Linked DNA regions of Homo sapiens: region 1 is linked to region 2. The links are contacts of gene promoters, found by promoter capture Hi-C in human tissues and cell types (Jung and others, 2019). All regions are on one chromosome and are shown on one strand. Each heading gives the region's core, a stretch centred on a gene start or on the middle of the fragment in contact. The rest is flanking DNA. Distances are from core to core; before and after follow the strand shown. Region 1 overlaps BIVM-ERCC5 (BIVM-ERCC5 readthrough). Region 2 holds the start of BIVM (basic, immunoglobulin-like variable motif containing).

Region 1 (7,284 bases), core at 3,128-5,627, 58 kb after region 2:
AGTAAGTGTCAAATAATTTTTTTCTTTCTGCATTCTTAGAAAAATTCACATAAAATTTTTGTTTTCTCTTTAGAATTTTAGAAACAGACTTATTTTGACACATACTTAATTACATCTACTTTTTTATCTTGAACAATTAATTTTTCTTTTAAAAAGTTTTATGAGAGTTCATCATGGGTACAATGATAAAATTTAACTTTTAAATAAAACTAACTACTAAAAACCTTGCTGTTGAGAGTTTTCCCTTCAGAGGATCTTGTTAGGTGTTTTATATTTATTTCAAGGATGCGGCCATCACTCAGAACACTGTGGAAACCCTCTTTTGGGAAGTGCCTCCCTGAATCTGAGATCAAGTATCCTCCGTGATAGCAAGCCTTCTTTTAAGGGGAATTGGATTTTAGGAGTAAGCAATGTTATGTGGTGCCAAGTGGTGACTAAAGTGGATTATCTAGGAAGGAAATTGACCATGATATAGAAGAGTCAGAATGAGTTGCTGCTTTATTGTTCTGGAAGTAGTTTTAAAAAATGTTTTTGGAAGGCCGGGGGCAGGAGGATTGCTTGAGCCCAAGTCCAGCCTGGGCAACACAGGGAGACCCCATCTCTAAAAAAATGACATAAAATAATGTTTAAACAGTCCAAATGACAGCACCCATTTGGATATATGACTTTTATTTGTTGAAAATACCAAAGTAATGAAATGATGACTTTGTAATCATACCAGATACTCTCTAAATGAGGATATAGGATAAAAGTAAGGATATAGGATAAAAATAAAAAGCATTTATAAATGCTGGGGGACCTTTGTTGCCTCAGTAAGAGTGTCTAGTCTTGAATGTTGCAGTTTTCAGTTACCCAAGGCATACTGTAAATCAGGTACTTTGTGGAAGGATTAGAAAGGAAAAGAGAATATCTTGGTTATTTTTATCCGATATTCAGCCATAAGCACAGGGACTATCCATTTGTCACTACTTGAACATTTCTTACAAGATATTTCTATACATTTTAGAATTTCTCATGATATATAATCTTGAATATTGAAGGGCAGAATTACATGTAAGTAATGCATGTTTATAAAAAGCAATATTAGAAATTGTTTTTGGTGTCACTGTGACATTTTATAGAATAAATAAATAATTTCTTTTGGGAAGCATTTAAGCTTTCCACTTCTTGGGCATATTAAAAGACATTTAAAAGAAACTGAAAGTAAATTAAGTTTCCCAAATATATTGTGTAGTAGCCCATTAAGTAATAGATGGAAACTCTGGGTGTCCTTTACGTAGCAGCAACCTGAAGATATACACTGATATGGCAATTAGGAGGAAATGCTAAAGCAGCCATAGTCTGAAAACTCAGACAAACCAAATTCTCTGGAAAATAAATCACAGCAATGTTTCTAGTGGTCTAATATCCTGAAGTGAGATCTTACATCCTTTCTTCTCATAGGTGAAGAGAAGGCAGAGAAAGGACTTAGCGTCCAGTGACTCCAGGAAAACGACAGAGAAGCTTCTGAAAACATTTTTGAAAAGACAAGCCATCAAAACTGCCTTCAGAAGCAAAAGGCAAGAGGAAAATTATAGTCGTGTTAGAGATGAAGTTTTAAAAAAGTGATTTTTGTCTTGATTTCCTGCGATTCTCTTTCCCTATCTAATTTTGACTCTCAACAGAAAATAGAGAGTGAAATGAGACAAGTAGGCTGCCATTTTGACCTGGTAATTTGGAGTTGTGGCAATTCTCCGTTCTGTGAGAATCAACTTTGCTAATGAGAAAAAAAAGCTGTCGTGTTGCGTCATGTACACTTTTTACTTTGATTATGGTCTTCTTGACTCTAGGTGAGCAGCCCCGCCAAGGTTCCTTCCTTTCTCTCGGCTGCATTTATTTTCCACAGCAGTGGCCTGAGAGCAGCCAGGTCAGGTCCCTGTTCACCATCCTGAGCAGGGTCTGCATAATCTGTTTAAAGATTTGTGTACTTTCCAGAGATGAAGCACTACCCAGTCTTACCCAAGTTCGAAGAGAAAACGACCTCTATGTTTTGCCTCCTTTACAAGAGGAAGAAAAACACAGGTAAATGTTTAACTATTTAAGAATATTATTTTAGTCATTGCTACATTCAGACACATTTAAACCTTGATGTGTTATCTACATGATAAGGCATGTGAACATTTCTTAATGCATCTGAAATAGGCATGCTCTATACCTTTCAGAATATTTTTCAAAGACTAAATTTTTTATTTACTATTCTTTGTGTTTTGGTGATTCATGATTCTTATTCCTCTTCATTCTAAAGAACTTCTGCCAGGGCTGTGGATTCTAAATTCTCCAAGGCATGAATTTTAGTTTTGCTTACACTTTGCTTACACATGCTGTCTCTAGCTGCTTTTCAATCCAGTATGGTCTCTCTCACCATGATGCTAAAATACCACAACCCATGACATTCTTGTTGCTAAATCTAGCAGACGCTTTGCACGTCTTAGTGTGCTCGACTTCTCTGCACTAAACACCATGCCACACTGCCCCGCTCCCCCGGCATCTCTCTGGCGCTTTCTGCTCAGCCTCTCTGTGGACTCCTCTTCCTCTGTCTCTCTCTTAATGGTTGGTGGTTTCTGTGTTTGAAGTGAAGGTGGAGAACCGGAAGCTTGGCAGTTTGCCTTTGTCCCCTGTCCTTCCCTCCACCTCTTCCTTTCCCAGGAGTTCCCAAGAGACAACTTAGCTTTTGTATCAGCTCAGTTCTATTTGTCTCCATTGCTACCACTGTCATTTTTTCTCCAGGTTACATTATTAGCTTTTAAACTTCTTTCTGTCTTTGTCTTTGATCATACCCTTTTTGTAATAGTTCCTCCCACCAAGCCCAATCTCTGTTTTGTGTTATAGTCTGTTTAAAATCCAAATCTGATATTGTCATTTCCTTACTTAAAACACTTTCTAGCTTCTCCTTCTCATTTTTTTCTTTCTTTTTTTTTTGAGATGGAGTCTCTGTTGCCCAGACTGGAGTGCAGTGGCACAATCTCAGCTCACTGCAACCCCTGCCTCCTGGGTTTAAGCGATTCTCCTGCCTCAGCCTCCGGAGTAGCTGGGATTACAGGCACGTGCCACCACACCTGGCTAATTTTTTGTATTTTTAGTAGAGACGAGGTTTCACCATGTTGTCCAGGCTGGTCTCGAACTCCTGACCTCAAGTGATCCACCTGCCTCGGCCTCCCAAAGTGCTGGGATTGCAGGCGTGAGCCACCACACGCAGCTTAGCTTCTCATTTCTTTAGGATAAAACTTTAACTCCTTAATTACACTTTCCAGTCTTATCCCTGCCTTTCTTCACATCATCCACAGGCAGGCTTTCTTTTCCTTGTTTCTATATGGTCATACAACTTAGTTCTTTTGCCTGGAACACTCTTCTCCATGAACCTTCCCGCTCCCTACAACTACACTCATTAATTCGTGGCTAACTCCAACCAGTGTAATTGCAGGAGATCCTGGAAAGCTTTTGTGACTCCTAAATTGGGTGAGGTGACTCCCTATTGCATCTCTAGTGACCTGCCCTTCCCTTGTGGTGGAAGTTATTAGATCCCACTCTAATTGCTTACTTACACGTGTCCCCCACCAGACCATGAGACCAGTAGTGGCACAGATCTTGCTGTTTTATTCACCACTGTAGCCCGTATAACGAGCAGAGCCTTGCATACAAGTATTTTTGTAAGGGGTCCTTAAAAATCATAGATATCGTAAAAGTATGTTTGACTTTCAGTTCAGAAGAGGAAGATGAAAAAGAATGGCAAGAAAGAATGAATCAAAAACAAGCATTACAGGTATTTAGATCATTTTTGAATTCAGAATGTATTCTGTTATTTGAAATGAATGACATGAAAATGAATATTAATGAGGTATATCAAACTGTGAAAGTTCCTGATAAAAAGTAAAGACAGATGGCTTTTTGGTTGTGCATATATATGTGTACATGTATGTATTTAAAACACACTCACCTACACACGTGTATATATATATATATGGAATTTGCCATTATGCACATCTATATATTCAAAACAAGCTATTTTTCTTTTACAACCAACCAACCAATAGTAATATGTGCTTACATAGAAAATATAGAAAACATATCATTCATAAATAACTTGTAATAACAGTTTGATATATTTTCATCCATTCTTTGCCTGCCCCATATAGTTGAATATCTGTGTGTGTATTTGTATATATGTATCAAATGTGCATGTGTACATATATATGTGTACACATATGTGTGTATGTTCTAGTTATCTGTCGCTGTGTAACTTAGTGGTTAAAACATCATTTGTTATCGTCATCTGTCTGGGTTCCAGGGGTAGATGAGCTCAGACAGGCAGTTCTCTCTGGGGTCTCTTGTGTAGATGCAGCCAGTCTGTAGCTGGGGCTGGAGTGATTAACGAGGTTTCCTTGCTGCCATGGGCGGTGGTTGATGCTGGCTGTCAGCCAGTCTTCCATGCGGCCAGCACCAGAGCACCTACTTGTGGCCTCTCCACGTGGCCTGGGCATTTTCCCAGCATGATGACTGTATTCCCAGTGTGGGCATCCCAAGAGAAAGTTCTAAGCAGAAGCCCTGTTGCCTTTCTGACCTAGCTTTGGAAGTTGTGCAGCATCCTTCCCACTACATCCTGTTCCTCAGAAGCTAGTTACTGCCCTATGGAAGGGGCAGAGAGTTAGACAAGAAGAATGTCCCACACATATTTTCATGAATAACATTTTTACAAATTGAGATTATGCTGTATATATACATTTTTTTCATAAACATTTTTCAAGTTTCTTAGTGTCACAGATAGCATTTTTTGATTCCCAAATTCACTGTTTCTTGTTTGTTCATATGGTTTTGTTCTATCAGGTAGAAACTTTTGAGCTAAAACCTCGAGATCCTTCAGGTTGCGGAGGTGCTGTGCTATTAATGCAGCTAGTGAGAGCAATCTTAGTTAAGACCATGGGCCTCGTGGTCAAAAAGACCTGCGTTTCAGTCCAGGCTCCACTGTTCACTAGCTGTGTGATCTTACACAGATTAAATTCTCCAAGGCTTTATTTTTTTTTGTAAAACGAAATTGATATCAATGCCTTCCTGATGGGGGTGATGGGAGCATTAGTGAGGGAAAGCACAGGAAATGCTGAGCGCAGTGACAGGTCTGTCCTACGTGTTTGCTGGTTGGTACGTACACATGTAACATACAGACATGCAGGACATCAGGTTGTATTAGCTTATCTTTTTTACTAATGAAGGATTTTAAAGTACTTTTGGTAATGAGTTAAAGTTGAGAAAAGTTTTACACTTTTCCATGTCTTCTGTGAATTTCTTTTAATTTCATTTCTTATGTTATAAGCAAAATAAAACTAACTTAATTATGGGAATGATATATATTGCTTGAATTCCTAAGGCACATTCTGTCTTGGGTTCTTGCATTTTCTGTTCTCTCAGCCTGAAATGCTCTATCCTCAGTGAGGCTCTTTGATATCTTCCAAGTCCCTGCTCACACATCCTCTTTTTAGTGGGGTCTTCTTTATCTATCAAATAGATCTTTTTTTCCACGTTCTGTTCATGTAATCACTCTCATATCAGATAAATCTGCTTTATTTTACCATTATCTTGTTCATTTATTTATTTATTTATTGTCTTCTCTCCTCTGCTCCTAAGAGCAGGGACCTTATCTGGCACCTTATCCGATCTCACAGTACCTTAGCACCTAGAACAGTGCCTGGTGCCTTAGAGGTACCTGCTAAGTATTTTTTTCTTTTGAATGAATTAAAGAGTGAATGGCTACATTCCCTAATTTGCCTACTCACTTTGTTGCCTGTCACAGATTATATGCAACTGTGTTTAGCCAATTGTTGATTATGTAGAACTGTGTTTATTATATAAACATAATACATATCCTTAATGTTGAATAGAACTAAGTGTATGAAATGTAAATTTCATGGTGCTGTGATTTTATCTTTACAGGAAGAGTTCTTTCATAATCCTCAAGCGATAGATATTGAGTCTGAGGACTTCAGCAGCCTGCCCCCTGAAGTAAAGCATGAAATCTTGACTGATATGAAAGAGTTCACCAAGCGCAGAAGAACATTATTTGAAGCAATGCCAGAGGTGAAATATGCAACAGTACATTCATGCTTAGAATTAAGAACTTCAGCAAAACTTTTTATTAGAAAGAAGAGAAAATTGATAAGCAATACTTACACGATATCTCAGTTAACAGTAAACAGCATTTCTACATCTCAGATTCTAAGAAGCATCGTATATTTATACGTTTGAGCCTATAGACATTTACTCTAAGAAGTTTTTCTTGACTTTTGACCCGAGACTAGGTCTTTTTTCCTGGTCTTTGTTCTCACAGCACCCTGTAATATCACTTCATAGTTCTTAGTTCCAAAACACGCTTATCTTGCTCACCTCTGTATTTTCAGTGTCTAGCTCAGTATTTTTCACATGGTATGTGTCCAGTAGATGCTTACTGACTCAATTCTTAGGTTAGGTCATAAAAGTTATTGTAACCTATAATATACATTGTCTATAAAAACTAATAGTCATATAGAATCTAATCACAATGGAAAAATAAGTTCTAAATTGAAATTCCAGGTATATCTTCCTCTGCTGCAGCCCTAGAGATGCCATTGGCTCTCCACATTCCCTTGCCCTCTTCCTGGACAGTGCGAATGGGGCTTCTTCACCTTGGAACATCTTGTAGCTTGGCAGGCCCAGAAAGCTAGAGTGGAGGTGGTATGTGCAGTTGGGTGCTAGCAAATGTGTCTCCTGATCATGCTGCCATTGATACTTAATTCATGTTACTATTGATGACTCCCTGTCTTAGTTGCCAGTGAGTGAGTTCTTTTTCTCTTTCTGTTGCTGCTACCTGTTATTTCTACCGTAGTTCTCCATTCACCCACTATAGGACAGAATCGAAATTTTGCAGCATCATCGACCTTAGTGCATAGATGGAGTGTTTTTTTATTTTCTACAATTTTTGAATATTGCTTAAATTGATAGCAGAAATATGAAAAAGGAAGGGTAAATTTCTTTTCTCATCACTCCCTGTTTTTTCCACAAAGAATGTGCAGTAGCACACACTAAGGTGCACAGAAGTGACATTCTTGGGTCTTTGGATATACAAAGGACAGAAGTAAATTGATTTTTATTTCAGGAGAAAAATCCAGGCTCAGTCTGTCTATCAGGCATTTTATTTCTTGAGTATGAAAGGATCTCTGGCTGGCAGTTGAGGAAGTAGAATTTTGGTTGTGTAAACAATAACAGGAAGAAATGGGAGAA
Region 2 (6,455 bases), core at 1,969-4,468:
CTTTGTATATACACTGCTTCCCTACTGTCTTGTGGTACTGTCGCCTGTAAGAGGGAAGGAGATGGCTCTAGGTAATAAAACTGTACTCTCATCCTATATAAGAAACATCAGAATGGCCGAGCATGGTGGCTCACACCTGTAATCCCAGCACTTTGGGAGACTGAGGCAGGCAGATCATGAGGTCAAGAGATCGAAACCATCCTGGTCAACATGGTGAAATCCTGTCTCTACTAAAAATACAAAAATTAGCCTGGCATGGTGGTGCGTGCCTGTAATCCCAGCTACATGGGAGGCTAAGGCAGGATAATCGCTTGAACCCGGAAGGCGGAGCTTGCAGTGAGCCAAGACTGCGCCATTGCACTCCAGCCTTGTGACAGAGCGAGACTCTGCCTCAAAAAAAAAAAAAAAAAAATAAATAAATAAATAAATAAATAAATGTCAGAGAATTTCTCTGGGAAAATGGCATTGGAACAAAGACAAAAAAACAACCACCAGTGCGCTCCTTGTCTTTCGAGCTATCTCCCTTCCTGAAGTGATCTACCTAATTTCAATAACACTTATCAGTTACTTAAGTCATATATTTCCAATTAAGAAAGTATCATATATGAGCATGAACACAGCTTGATTATTCTTGCTAATGTATGTCTTCGCGGAGTAAATTCTCTACTAATATGTTCCTTGCTCTTTAGCAAATCAGAATTTCCGTTCAAATCTTGAATGTCTTTTTACCAGGACTCATAACTTAGCTTTCAAGTAGAAAGCCTTTATTTTTCTTCTTTCAGTAAAAAAAAAAAAAAAAATATATATATATATATATATATCATGCCAAGTTGTTTTTGTTGATGGAATAACATATATTATTTTATTCAAATACTGCTGTTATAAAATTATATTCCAAATTACCTTTTAAAATATATGGGGATTTGGCCACATGTTGCCCTTGGAATTTAATTTCCACCTTCAGATTTTTGTAGCTTGCATACATTCTGTATCTTACTATGAAGGACCCATCTTTTCGGTCTAAAACCTGGACTCCAACTCTAGTGAATTGCTCCTCTGGTGCTGAGACTTTCACCTGGAAGACCTTTTCGCCTGGAGAAGATGTGAATCTGTGATGAAAAGGCAATGGGGGAGATAAACAGATTTTAACGAACAAACACACAAAGGTTATGCTCTTCAGTCTGGAAACTTGATTATTCTCCTCCACATTCTTCCTCTAACATATGATTGCTTCTTCTTCTCTTATGCTTTTAGTACCAGAATGAATATGATGGATCAGAGATTTAAAAAAATGAGGATGACAATGGCCAAGATAACATGAAACAGTTTCATTAAACAGTCACAATGGAGTATGTTAAGACTATTAATCTATATAAGCACAGAACATACTCATGCATTCCATATGGAAAAATATTCTTACTAACTTATTTCATGCTATCACATCTGGATATTTGTGATCAAATGATGCTCCCAAAGATAATGATCTTATTTTGAAAAATCTCTGCCAATGAATCTTTACAATATCAGTATTATAAATCACGCTCAGGCCTGGCACTGTGGCCCATGCCTACTATCTCAACATCTTGGGAGGCCAAGGAGGGAAGACTGCTTGAGGCCAGGAGTTCGAGATCAGCCTGGGCAACAAGGTGAGATCCTGTCTCTACAAATAATAATAATAATAATAAAAAACAAATAGCCAGGCGAGGTGGCACACGCCTGTAGTCCCAACTACTAGGGAGGCTGAGGTGGGAGGATAGCTTCAGCCTGGGAGGTTGAGGGTACAGTGAGCTGTGATTGCACCACTGCACTCCAGACTAGGCTAGGAAGTGAAACCCTGTCTTAAAAAAAAAAAACTCACGCTCAGCCATGGGCAAAAGCAAAGTAGTAGGTAGTGTATCATCTTTTGCCAAATAACAAAATTTACAACCTGCCTTTTACTTGACAACCTTTTATTCCAGTATTTTTTTCTGTATGAAATACACACAGTCAGCATCCACCAATAATAGAGACAATCATTTCAGAAGTATAGGAATTATAAAAATAAGTTTTAAGTATGATGTTAAAGTATTAAATTCATTGGAACAAAATATTTGTTACAATCATATAGGAGATTAATACTTCGATACTTTCCTTCCGAACTCTGAAGTTTCAAATAGTACTTCATTTTTCTTTTTCAGTTTCAAAACATGCTTACCTGCAGATGTCTCCTTGAAAATTGAGGGCCGCACCAGAGAAAGATGAAGCCCATCAAGTCTCTAACAACTAGGTTTAAATCCCTTATAATAGCTTATGCGAAAAGTAGTTAGAAACAGTATTTCCAGCAAAGTGGAGGGACTTTGTCTTGCCCTGATAATGTGGGAATCTGAATCAAAATTGCTAGGAGATTATTTTATATGTTATATACAATACATTATATTGCATATATTATAATTCGGAACAATTTCTACAGCTACAGAGAAAAATGGGTAACCAAATATCCTGGAATATAAACTGCTGTGGAGAAACGAGTTCTTGGAAAGAAAAATCTTAAAGGGAGAAACAGATTTAACCGCCATCCAAAATAGGTAAGGAGCCGTTTCTCGACTTACTTATTCCCTGATGTATCCACTGCCTGAATATAGAAATAGCGGGCGGGAAGGACGACGTCTGCTTTTAGCCCGGGTCCCCATATTTCGCTCTTCTCCGGGCTCAGCTGCCTTTCTCCGCCGGTCTCGGCGAGTGCTGGAACTGTCGCCAGAAAGAAGCAATAAAGTAGCAAAGTGCCAAACATTTACAAGACGGACTCTCGAAATGATCCACCGATAAATGAAGAAGTGTAAGAGGTGGACAGAAGCAGCCGAGCCTTCGGCAGGGACCCGCCGGCCGATCGCAGCAGCCAACGCGACTGCAAAGGTTGCCGCCCGGCGTGCAGGGCAGGCGCGCGGGTCTCCGCGACCCCAGGACAATCAAAGCCCGTGCCCCGGCGCGCCCAGGTGAGGGTCCCCTGGCGTTCTGCTGTCCCGGCCGAGAACCGCGCTGCTCCTCTCTCTCAGGACAATGATGAACTTGAGTTGCTCCTGCCACTGGAGCATCATTTGGGAGCGAATCCGTCTCAGGTTCCAGCCAAGGTGTAGGGCGAGGGGATTGGCCCGTGCGTCGGGCCAGGCTCAGTAACGCCTTCTCCAAGTGGATGGCGGGGTGGACACGCGTCCCGGCGCCCCGGGCTCCCTGGGATATGTAGTTCGCGACAGGACGAGCGGAAATACTGCCAGGATTTTACCACCTCTCGCCCATTTATTTACTTCTCGGTCACCGCTTTCGGGGGACAGATAAACACCACAGATGCCCATCAAAGGGGCGCACGGGTCTGGAGGCGCAGCTCAGGTTTTTGCGTTGGTCACCCTGCCCTCCGCACGTGGAGAGGGCAGGCATAAAGCACCTTGAAAGGAAGGTGCTGTCAATGCTATCCGACGACCTGTCGCCGGGCACCGCAGCATCCTCGCTCGCTCCGATGGGACGAGGGACGCCGGCCCCAGGGTAACAGGAGGCGCCTCGCCGGCCGCGCGCTGGATGCTGTGATCCAGGTCCGGAGCCGGGTTCCGCCGCGGCCGCAGCGACCCGACCCCACCCGACAGGCCAGAGGTACCCCGGGGCGGGGGGCAGGGGCCGAGGTGGCGGCCGGCTGTGCGCTCTGAGCGCCTGGCCCTCCGCTGGGCACCTGGGCGCCGCCAGCCCGGCCTGCTGCCGCTCTACGCGCAGCCACCTGGGCATTCAAAATTTTTACTTAATTCGATACCGGCCTGGGCTGCCAGGGGTCATCGCCTCTCCGAGCCCCGTGGCGTCCAGATGGAGGCCACTGCATGGGTGCGCGCTCTCCCGGGAAGGAGTAGGGGGAAGAGCTGTGTCGCGGGGGGAAGAGAAGCGCCAGGGAAAGAAGGGCCTAGCCCTCTGGTGAACAAAGCTCGATTAGGAGGTGTCCATGTGGATACCGGTGACCCCTGTGCGGCCGTCGGTCTCCACGCCACGCTGGGCAGGGTCCGGGAACCAGCGCGCAGCGGCCGTCGCCTTCCCCTGCACGCCAGCACCCGGGTCTGGGCCGCCGCCAGGAGTCACGGGCTCACCGCCCTGGTCAGCTTGGCAGTCGGACCCGGAGCCGCCTCCTCTGCCTGCCTCCCTCTTGCCAGCTGCCCCGAAAACCCAGAAGAGCCGGTGGCTCCGAGCCAAGGCGGGCCTGGTTCGGCGCCAGGAAAGGGGGTTTCTTTCCTATTTTCTTTTGTGCAATTGTCATTATTAATGATACCGACTCGTTTACTCAAACAGTCGAATCGGAGCCCCAGCTCTTAGCCCGGATGCAGCAATTGCCCGTGGGCCCCCTTTAACACCAACAGCGTCCCCGGGGCCCGGGGCAAGCATGTTCGAGGCGGTCACCCCCGGGCCTCGGCGCGCTCCCCCTGGCGGAGAGCCTCGTCTTCCGGCCGGTGAGGGAAGGTAGAGGAGGGAGTAGGGGCGAGGAGGCCTCGGCGGCCCTTGGGCTCTGCGGGCTGGGGACTCGGGGTGCCCGCGACACGCGCGGAGGCGCGGGCTGGGTTGGCCACGGGCAGGGAGCGCAGCCGCGCTCCTTCCTCTCTGCCCGCGTCGCCTCCGCGCGCACTGGTTCTGCGCGGCGGGGCTTGGCCTGCGCGACTGTCTACTCCGTCCCGGCGGCCTCGGAGCCCGGCCGAGCGGCGAGCTTGTCAGAGGACGGTGGTGGAAACGCTCCCGGCCTCCCCAGGGGCGCGGGCTGGAGGCTGGCGCCAGGCGCGGAGGACTCCCGGTATCTTTTGACAGGCTGGCGCCTCGGCTCTGGGGACCCGCAGGTCTGAAGGGGAGGAAGGGGCCTGGAGGGCGCGGGAGGACACCGGGTGGGAAGGGTGGCATTAGCTCGGCCGGGGGCTATGCGCCTCTGGTTTCGCCCTCCCGCGCATATTCGACCCTTACGAGGTCACCGGAATGCCCCTGCTCCTCAGTTGCCTTCTATACAGGATATCGATCAGGGTATTTTGTTATACGAAAAGGCTTTACTGAAGAGGTTTTTAGAGATGTTTGGTTCTCTCATAAACTTGATACTTGAGAATACAGACAAAATATAACCTGAAAAGACTACAACCTAGGCGATGAAGATTGGCTTTACAAATGGACGTTTATTTTACAGAACACTTCGTTCAGTGACTTTGAACAATCATGACTCTGGCGGTGCTTTTTAAACTTGCCATTTTATAAATTTTTGCTTTGCATACGAGCAAACCATATTTCTATTGCTTATGACATGATTTTATGAGTAAGCTATTAGTTGAGCCTGAGGTCCTGCAGTCATTCTTAGTAGTAAATTTTTTTTTTTTTTTTTTTGAGACGGAGTTTTGCTCTGATCGCCCAGGCTGGAGTGCAATGGTGCAACTGTAACCTCCACCTCTGGTGTTCAGCGATTCTCCAGCCTTGCCTCCTGAGTAGCTGGGCCTACACGCATGCGCCACCATGCACGGCTAATTTTGTATTTTTTTATTTTTTATTTTTTTTTAGTAGAAACGGGTCTCACCATGTTGGCCAGGCTGGCCTCAAACTCCTGACCTCAGATGATCCACCCGCCTCAGCCTCCCAAAGTGCTGGGATTACAGGTGTGAGCCACCACGCCGGCTTAGTAAATCTTAATATAGCAACACCTCACTTGCCTGGAAGAGGGAACCGCAATCAATCAAAATGAGGGCCTACAGTAATGCCTGGCATGATGCAAACACTTAAAAATTATCTGTTGAATGAGACGTCTACAAATCCTAGGCCCTGGGGATACAATAATCTGGAAAACCAGACTTGCAGGATGCAGACGTTGATCATATGAACAGATATGCACAGAAGTAAGTGTAAAATTGCCACCTGGTAAGACCTGTGTGAGGAAGGTACTAGAGTCTGTACCGGGTCACCTGGCCTAGTTTGAGAAGCCAAGAAGGTTTCCCCCAGAAAGTGACATTTGAGCTGACATTGGAAAGATGAATGGGAATGAGCTAAGTAAGGGAGACAGTATTGGGAGAACCAAAAAGTAATGTGGAGCTTGGGGGGTGGGGGAAAGGAATGAGATGGAGCTAACCAGATAGATCTAGGGACCATCAGGAGTTGGCCTTTTGTTCTAAGAGCAGAGGCTTTCAGGCAGAGGAGTTCTGTGATCATATATATGTAGCAAACTTTATTTTCTAATATCTCTGCACAGGTCAGGTTAGAAGTGTCAACTCACTGGGAATAGTTTATAAATAGAGAAACAAAAGGAGATAAAAGATGAGTCAAAACAGTGACAGCTGCAGCCTATTAAGTGGAGGGACAAACTGCCTCTCTATAGCTCAGTATTGTCTATAATGATTCTGTTATTAGTATTATCAGTAATAAATTGTGCTTAGTGTACTTTAAGAAAGCTAGAATCTGAGCATGCAATAATAGAAGCCCCCTTGGCC

What was found. The method cuts DNA at HindIII sites, captures the fragments that hold promoters and counts their contacts. A contact is called where the count stands out against the background at its distance.
Region 1: a contact is called between a fragment that was not itself captured here and the fragment with the promoter of BIVM in region 2, in 2 of the 25 tissues and cell types used here (H1 embryonic stem cells and pancreas).

Annotation. Positions count from the first base shown.
Region 1 is chr13:102,852,314-102,859,597 of GRCh38, forward strand. BIVM-ERCC5 (BIVM-ERCC5 readthrough) reads left to right here. Exons shown (of 23, transcript NM_001204425.2): 11 at 1,444-1,559; 12 at 1,975-2,061; 13 at 3,739-3,799; 14 at 5,962-6,105. ERCC5 (ERCC excision repair 5, endonuclease) reads left to right here. Exons shown (of 15, transcript NM_000123.4): 3 at 1,444-1,559; 4 at 1,975-2,061; 5 at 3,739-3,799; 6 at 5,962-6,105. Among named protein-coding and RNA genes, the nearest start is that of ERCC5, 9.9 kb to the left of the region's middle. The HindIII fragment of the contact is 6,096 bases long and covers 1,330-7,284 here.
Region 2 is chr13:102,795,901-102,802,355 of GRCh38, forward strand. BIVM (basic, immunoglobulin-like variable motif containing) reads left to right here and starts at 3,219. Exons shown (of 11, transcript NM_017693.4): 1 at 3,219-3,621. It overlaps POGLUT2 (protein O-glucosyltransferase 2), which reads right to left and starts at 3,076. Exons shown (of 10, transcript NM_024089.3): 1 at 2,589-3,076; 2 at 904-1,109. The coding sequence starts at 2,770. RefSeq lists an enhancer at 3,226-3,445 and silencers at 3,506-3,775, 4,336-4,385, 4,416-4,845. The HindIII fragment of the contact is 13,413 bases long and covers 1-6,455 here.